Linked DNA regions of Homo sapiens: region 1 is linked to region 2. The links are contacts of gene promoters, found by promoter capture Hi-C in blood cells and fetal thymus (Javierre and others, 2016). All regions are on one chromosome and are shown on one strand. Each heading gives the region's core, a stretch centred on a gene start or on the middle of the fragment in contact. The rest is flanking DNA. Distances are from core to core; before and after follow the strand shown. Region 1 overlaps NDUFA6-DT (NDUFA6 divergent transcript). Region 2 holds the start of MEI1 (meiotic double-stranded break formation protein 1).

What was found. Contacts are between HindIII fragments. The CHiCAGO score rates a contact against its expected background, and 5 or more counts as called.
Region 1: a contact is called between a fragment that was not itself captured here and the fragment with the promoter of MEI1 in region 2, in 2 of 17 cell types (erythroblasts and endothelial precursors). The highest score is 5.6, in erythroblasts.

Annotation. Positions count from the first base shown.
Region 1 is chr22:42,116,612-42,119,942 of GRCh38, forward strand. The region is part of intron 3 of NDUFA6-DT (NDUFA6 divergent transcript); the gene reads left to right. Among named protein-coding and RNA genes, the nearest start is that of CYP2D6, 13 kb to the right of the region's middle. The HindIII fragment of the contact is 1,554 bases long and covers 548-2,101 here.
Region 2 is chr22:41,697,944-41,701,476 of GRCh38, forward strand. MEI1 (meiotic double-stranded break formation protein 1) reads left to right here and starts at 1,560. Exons shown (of 31, transcript NM_152513.4): 1 at 1,560-1,769. The coding sequence starts at 1,596. It also overlaps the pseudogene C22orf46P. RefSeq lists a silencer at 1,533-1,632. The HindIII fragment of the contact is 5,602 bases long and covers 754-3,533 here.

The DNA of each region.
Region 1 (3,331 bases), core at 75-2,574, 420 kb after region 2:
AATCTGGAACTCAGGGGCTACTGTTCAGATTCTTTTGTCCCACAAAGTGACCCCTTGATGTGATGCATTCTCACTTCCCCTAGGGATGGAGCTTCGTGAGAGCCAGACTGTAGTGATTGCTATTGCTCTTCTGGGTCCAGCCACCCAGTGGGGCTACCAGGTTCCAGGCTGGTGCTGAGGAATGTCTGCAAAGAGTCCTGTGATGTGATCCGTCTTTAGCTCTCCTGGCCATGGACACCAGCACCTGCCCTGGTGGAGGTGGGAGGGGAGTAAAGTAGACTGTGAGTGTGAGAGTCCTTGCTTGTAGTTTTGTTTACTGTGCTGGCTTTCTCAAATGCTGGTTATGCTAGCAGTGAAGTTGTCACGTGGACAGACTCAGGAGCTCTGGTTAGCCAGGATGTTGAAAGCAGTGGAATTAGCTGTTTCTCATTTCTTGGAGCAGGGTTATTCTGTTGTGAGTTGCTGTAATGTCCTGACTTGGTTGGCCTCCAGCCAGGAGGTGGCGCTTTCAAGAGAACACCAGCTGCAATACTGGAAGGGGGATATAAGCTTGCCCTAAGTTGGCCAGGATAAGTATTAGGATTTCTCAGGTGATGGACAGGGCCATAAAGCTCCCAAGAGTTTATGGCTTTTGTGATCAGCTACCAGGGCGGGTAGAGAAATACTGTCAGGTTGGGGCAGGGTTAGGTGAGTCTGAGCTCAGACTCTTTCTGGGAATCTGTTACTGATTTGTAATTTTTAATTCCACAGTGTTTGAAGGACATACTTGAAATAAATTTAAAATCCATTGAGATTTGTTTCGTGGTCCAGAATATGGCCTATCTTGGTGAATGTTTCATGTGTATGTGAAACTGAGGCATCCATCCCTCAGTTTCAACCACCCATAGATTTGTAATTATTGTTACATTTACAGAAATTTGCAGGAAGGTAGAAGTTATTGTCTTGAACCATAAAATGTCTGTTTGAAGTCTTTGAGCTCCTCAAGGGTAGGCTGTATGTCCTGTTTACCTTTGATCCTCTCAGCATAATGCTTGGACCAAAATGGAAGCTCAGCAGACACTGGTTGAATGAATGAATAGATGACATTCAATTGTTAGGCTGTGTTCTTGTTTTGGATTTAGAAAATATGCTTATTGTGTTATGCAGTAAGACTGAGTCTTGGCTGGGTGCAGTGGCTTACGCCTGTAATCTCAATACTTTGGGAGGCCGAGGCGGGTGGATCACTTGACGCCAGGAGTTTGAGACCAGCCTGGCCAACATGACAAGACCCTGTCTTTACTAAAAATACAAAAAAATTAGCTGGGCATGGTGATGCACACCTGTAATCCCAGCCACTCGGTAGCCTGAGGCATGAGAATCTCTTGAACCTGAGAGGTGGAGGTTGCAGTGAGCCATGATCATGCCACTGCACTCCAGCCTGGGCAACAGATCAAGACTCAGTCTTAAAGACAAAAAAAAAATACTGAGTCTTACACACTTTTGCATCTTTGTGTCTCTATGGGTCTTCACACAGAGCTTGGCACATTGTAGCTGCTCAGTCAGCACTGTTTGTGCTGAATTGAAACAATGAGATATGTACAAAGGGGCTGTCTCTCACTACTGGGGATTTAAAGCCACCCCGAGGCATTTGACAAGCTGTTCTGGCCAAGGTTGAAGAGGTTGTCCTGTCATAAAGCCCCCCTAAGACACGATGTCACACATAGACACCACTCTCTGTGCGAAAGGGGGGGCCTGTGCACTGAACTCCCAGACTTAGCTGGGCCTCAGTGCTCTTCTTGGGTTTGGTCATAGAGCCCAAGAGGAGGTGGATAAGCTGCCTGACACTGATATGGTAAAAGGATTATCTGCAAATTTCTAGCGTCATCAAGACTGGCCTCTTTGGTAAGCAGGCCTAAAAGGCTGCCCTCAATAAACCACCCAAGCAGGTGAAAATTATCTTTTTACCCCAAGCCTACCTTTTCTACATCCTTTTCTACTTGACATGCCCCTTCTACTCCTCTTCTCTCCTTTAGGACTCATTCTCTCTCCTTTCCTCCTCTAAACCTCCTCCCAGAAAAAGACCTGATAACTTCACTTACACCGGGTTATAGATGACTAACAAAGCTTACTATTGAATATGTTGCTAGTAGAAATCTGAATAAGATACAGCAACTTTTCAACTCTGATCATGGCTTTAAGCACTAGGATGAACCACAGCCATGTAATCATTCATTTGGTTACTTAGCTCTTGCTGTGTCCCACGCATAGGGGCAGCTACTGGGGGTTTGACAGTGGACGGACCTAAAGTGGTCCCTCAGTCAGGGGACAGTACAGTACCCTAAGAGCACTGAGGAGGGCCACCCCACGTGAACTCAGGTAGTCAGGGGAGCCCTCCTGAAAGCCATGGAGAAACACATTCTAGGTAGATAACAGCACATGCAAAGGCCTAGAAGTGAGTGTCTGAGGTGGAAGTTCAGAGTCTTTGTCGTCAGCAGGACATGGAGCAACACTTGACACTGAGATTTAGGCAGAGAGAGACAGAGAGACAAAGAGAGATAGAGAGACAGAAACAGATACAGAGACAGAGTTAGAGATACAGAGAGATAGACAGAGACAGAGACAGAGATAGAGACAGAGCTAGAGATACAGAGAGAGACAGAGATACAGAGAGAGAGACAGATAGAGATACACAGAGAGAGGCAGAGACAGAAATAGAGACTGAGAGAGGCAGAGACAGAAATAGAGACTGAGAGAGGCAGAGACAGAAAGAGAGACAGAGATAGAGACTGAGAGATAGAGAGAGAGAGGAGTGGGAGGCAGGAGGAAAACCAGAGCATGAGAGGTCAAGCAGCCAAGAGAAAAGGCGAGGTCGTTAAAGAAAGGGTCAGCTGGGGCCGGGTGCAGTGGCTCATGCCTGTAATCCCAGCACTTTGGAAGACCGAGGCAGGCGGATCACGAGGTCAGGAGATCAGGACCATCCTGGCTAACATGGGGAAACCCCGCCTCTGCTAGTAAATACAAAAAAATTAGCTGGGCCTCGTGGCGGGCCGCCTGTAGTCTCAGCTACTCGGGAGGCTGAAGCAAGAGAATGGTGTGAACCCGGGAGGCGGAGCTTGCAGTGAGCCGAGATCACGCCACTGCACTCCAGCCTGGGCGACAGAGCGAGACTCCGTCTCAAAAAAAAAAAAAAAAAGAAAAAAAGGAAAGAGTCATCTGGGTTTGGTGACTAGGAGCGTACTGGTGACCTCAGTGAGAGGGGTTTCAGAGGCTTATGGAGACAGATGCAGGTTGAAGTGGGTTGTGGAGCGCGGGAGAGGTAGAAAGCAGTAAACACACCCCCCTGCCAACACCG
Region 2 (3,533 bases), core at 310-2,809:
CTGGGAACCCAAATGGGGCTCCACAGAATACACGAGCCTCCAAAAAGTTTAGTATTATGAAGCATCTGAATTTTTTTCTCTTCCAGAATGGCTTTAAAAAGTAGACTCAGGCCCAGAGTCCTCAGGACATATCAGAAAAGCTTTGAGAGTGTCCTGATCCCTGCAAAGCCTCTAATAAATTGGTCATTTGGGCCCTGTGGTGTTCTGATTTCTCTGGCACATTTTCCAAGTGCCCCCTTTCGGGGTTTGGGATACTTTGTGGGTGGGGTAGAAGCCCCTTCCACTCTGTGGTTGTGGTTTAGGGAATGTGGGTCAACCCAGTGTCCTCTCCGAAACACCTGCCCCCCAGCTCCTCACAGTGGAGTCCACTGAGGTTCTATCCTGCTCTGTCTCCAAGCTAATCCTGATTGAGGCAGGACACTCCAAAAGCCTCAGCTGCTTATGGGGAGGGGTGGTCCTCTGCATGGGACGCTTTTTTTTTTTTTTTTGAGATGGAGTGTAGGTCTGTGGCCCAAGCTGGAGTTCAGTGGCTTGATCTCCGCTCACTGTAACCTCCGCCTCCTGGGTTCAAGCGATTCTGCTGCCTCAGCCTCCCGAGTAGCTGGGATTACAGTCATGAGCCACCACACCCAGCTAATTTTTGTATTTTTAGTAGAGGAGGGGTTTCGCCCTGTTGCTCAGGCTGGTCTTGAACTTCTTTCTCTCTGTCTTTGGTGTTTTGTTTTGTTTTTTTACTTTTATTTTTTGGTCTTAAGCTTCTGATTTATTTATTTATTTTTAAGATGGAGTCTTCCTCTGTCACCCAGGCTGGAGTGCAGTGGTGCGATCTTGGCTCACTGCAACCTCCACCTCCCAGGTTCAAGTGATTCTCCTGCCTCAGCCTCCCTCCCAAAGTGCTGTGATTACAGGCATGAGCCAACTCACCCAGCCTCTAATTGCTTTTAGATGCGAATCCTTGGGATCGCTTATTTTCCTTTTTTTTTTTTTTTTTGAGATAGAGTCTTGCTCTGTCGCCAGGCTGGAGTGCAGTGGCACAATCTCAGCTCACTGCAACCTCCGCCTCCCAGGTTCAAGTGATTCCCCTGCCTCAAGCCTCCCAAGTAGCTGGGATTACAGGCACTTGCCACCACACCCAGCTAATTTTTTGTATTTTAGTAGAGACGGGGTTTCACCATGTTGGGTAAGATGGTCTTGATCTCCAGATCTCGTGATCCGCCCACCTCGGCTTCCCAAAGTGCTGGGATTACAGGCGTGAGCCACCATGCCCGGCCTTCATTTTTAAAAAACAGTAGAAATAGCTTCCTTTCCTTCCTTTTTCAAGGCAAATGCCCCCTACTTTATAATTGCTTTTCAACTTTGGATGTGGTAAAGACATTCCTGCAGGGTTCTAAGCACAAACCGCTTTTGGCTTAGCTAGACACGATCCAGAGCACTTGCGTCCACCACTTGCCCTCAGTGGCTGCTGCTCGTCTGAGACTGCAGCGCCCTGGGTCCGCGCAGGCGCATTCCACACCGACGCAGGTCCGTCCTCCAAGTGCGCATGCGTGCAGTCTGCGCGGGAAAGAGTGCCGCCTCAGCTGAGGGCAAGCGAGGAGATGGCTGTGAGGCAGGCGGCGACGGCGGGCACTCCCGGGCCCAGGAGAGAGGAAGAGGCGGCGCTTCTATTCGAGAGGGCCCATTACCGGCACGACCCGCGCTGGCTGCTGCCCGTGACCCCCCGCCTGTGCCTGGCCTGCGCGCTGGAGCTGCTGCCGGACCCCGGCGTGTCGGTGCGGGCGGAACCTTTTCTTCAGAAGACCTGGGTTTGGCCATTTCCCTCAGCAAACGCGGCCAGGCCCTTGCCAGACCCGCTCCGGTGAACCCGACGCGAAACCGGGCCCCCGCGCTGTGTTCACTCTCCTCCCTGTCAGCCCGTCCCGGACCCGGCCGCAGCGGCCTCTCGGGCCCCTCAGCCCCAGGCCGGCCTGCGGGCCTCCGTGGAGCCCGGTCCACTGGCTCTGCGCCTGAAAGGACGGAAATCCGGATCCCCCGGGACCTCACCCAGTCTCAGGGACACACCTTCCCGCCTTCCGCCTTCTGGCTCCTTCCCTTTGCTGCCCCTGCCTCCATTTCCCGGGGATTCGGCCTTAGCTCAGGCTCCCGCCATTTCAGCCTCCCGCCATTTCAGCCTCCACTCACCTGCGGGCCAGGGGCGCATGCGGCGGCCGCTCCTCATTCCCTTCAGCTGTCGGGGTGTGAATCGGAGGAGGGGCAGTCTGGGCTCCGAGGGGACAGGAGTGACAGGTTACAGCCGGGCAGAAGTGGGGGTGAACGGGAAGACTGTTCCTTGGGCAGAGCTGGCCAAAGCGGGCTGCCTGGGTCCTCATTGCCTACCGCGTTTGCAATGAAGTGGTTTTGTTTGTTTCGAGACGGAGTCTCGCTCTGACACCCAGGCCGGAGTGCAATGGCGCCATCTCCGCTCACTGCAACCTCTGTTTCCTGGGTTCAAGCGATTCTCCTGCCTCAACCTACCCAGTAGCTGGGATTACAGGCTCCCGCCACCACGCTCGGCTAATTTCTCTATTTTTAGTAGAGACGGAGTTTCATCATGTTGGCCAGGCTGGTCTCGAACTCTTGACCTCAGGTGATCCACCCGCCTCGGCTTCCCATAGTGCTGGGATTATAGGCGTGAGCCACGGTGCCCGACCTGCAGTGAGTTTTCTTGTCCATGGAGGCATCCAAGAAGACTTTGGGAGGTCAAGTTTCTCTCCAATTCATGGGAGGGGAATTCGTGAGTGGGTGGATTGGCTAGATCAGCAGTTCTCAATTTTTTTTTTTTTTTTTTTTTTTTTTGTAGAAACGGTCCCGGGGGTCTCCCTGTGTTGCCCAGGCTGGTCTTGAACTCCTAGTCTCAAGCAATTCTCCTGCCTTGACCTCCCAAAGTCCAAAGTGTTGGGATTGCATCTGTGAGCCACCGTGCCTGGCTGCGTTCTCAAATATTTTGATTTCTTTCTTTCTTTTTTTTTTTTTTTTTGAGATGGAGTTTCACTCTTGTTGCCCAGGCTGGAGTGCAATGGCGCAATCTCAGCTCACCGCAACCTCCGCCTCCCGGGTTCAAGCGATTCTCCTGCCTCAGCCTTCCGAGTAGCTGGGATTACATGCATGCGTCACTACGCCCAGCTAATTTTGTATTTTTAGTATAGACGGGGTTTCTCCATGTTGGTCAGGTTGGTGTTGAACTCCCAACCTCAGGTGATCTGCCTGCCTCAGCCTCCCAAAGTGTTGGGATTAAAGACGTGAGCCACCACACCCGGCCAAACAGCTGGATTTTTATCTATTTCTGCATTCAGTCTGTTGTGCTATCATGTCATATAGTCTCAAAAACTCCACTGTACACTTGTGGGAGAATAAGAATGAGAAAGACTGGGCCGGGTCCGGTGGCTCACACCTGTAATCCCAGCACTTTGGGAGGCCGAGGTGGTTGGATCACGAGGCCAGAAGTTCAAGACCAGCCTGGCCAACATGGAAAAAATTTAAAAAAAAATGAGGAAGAC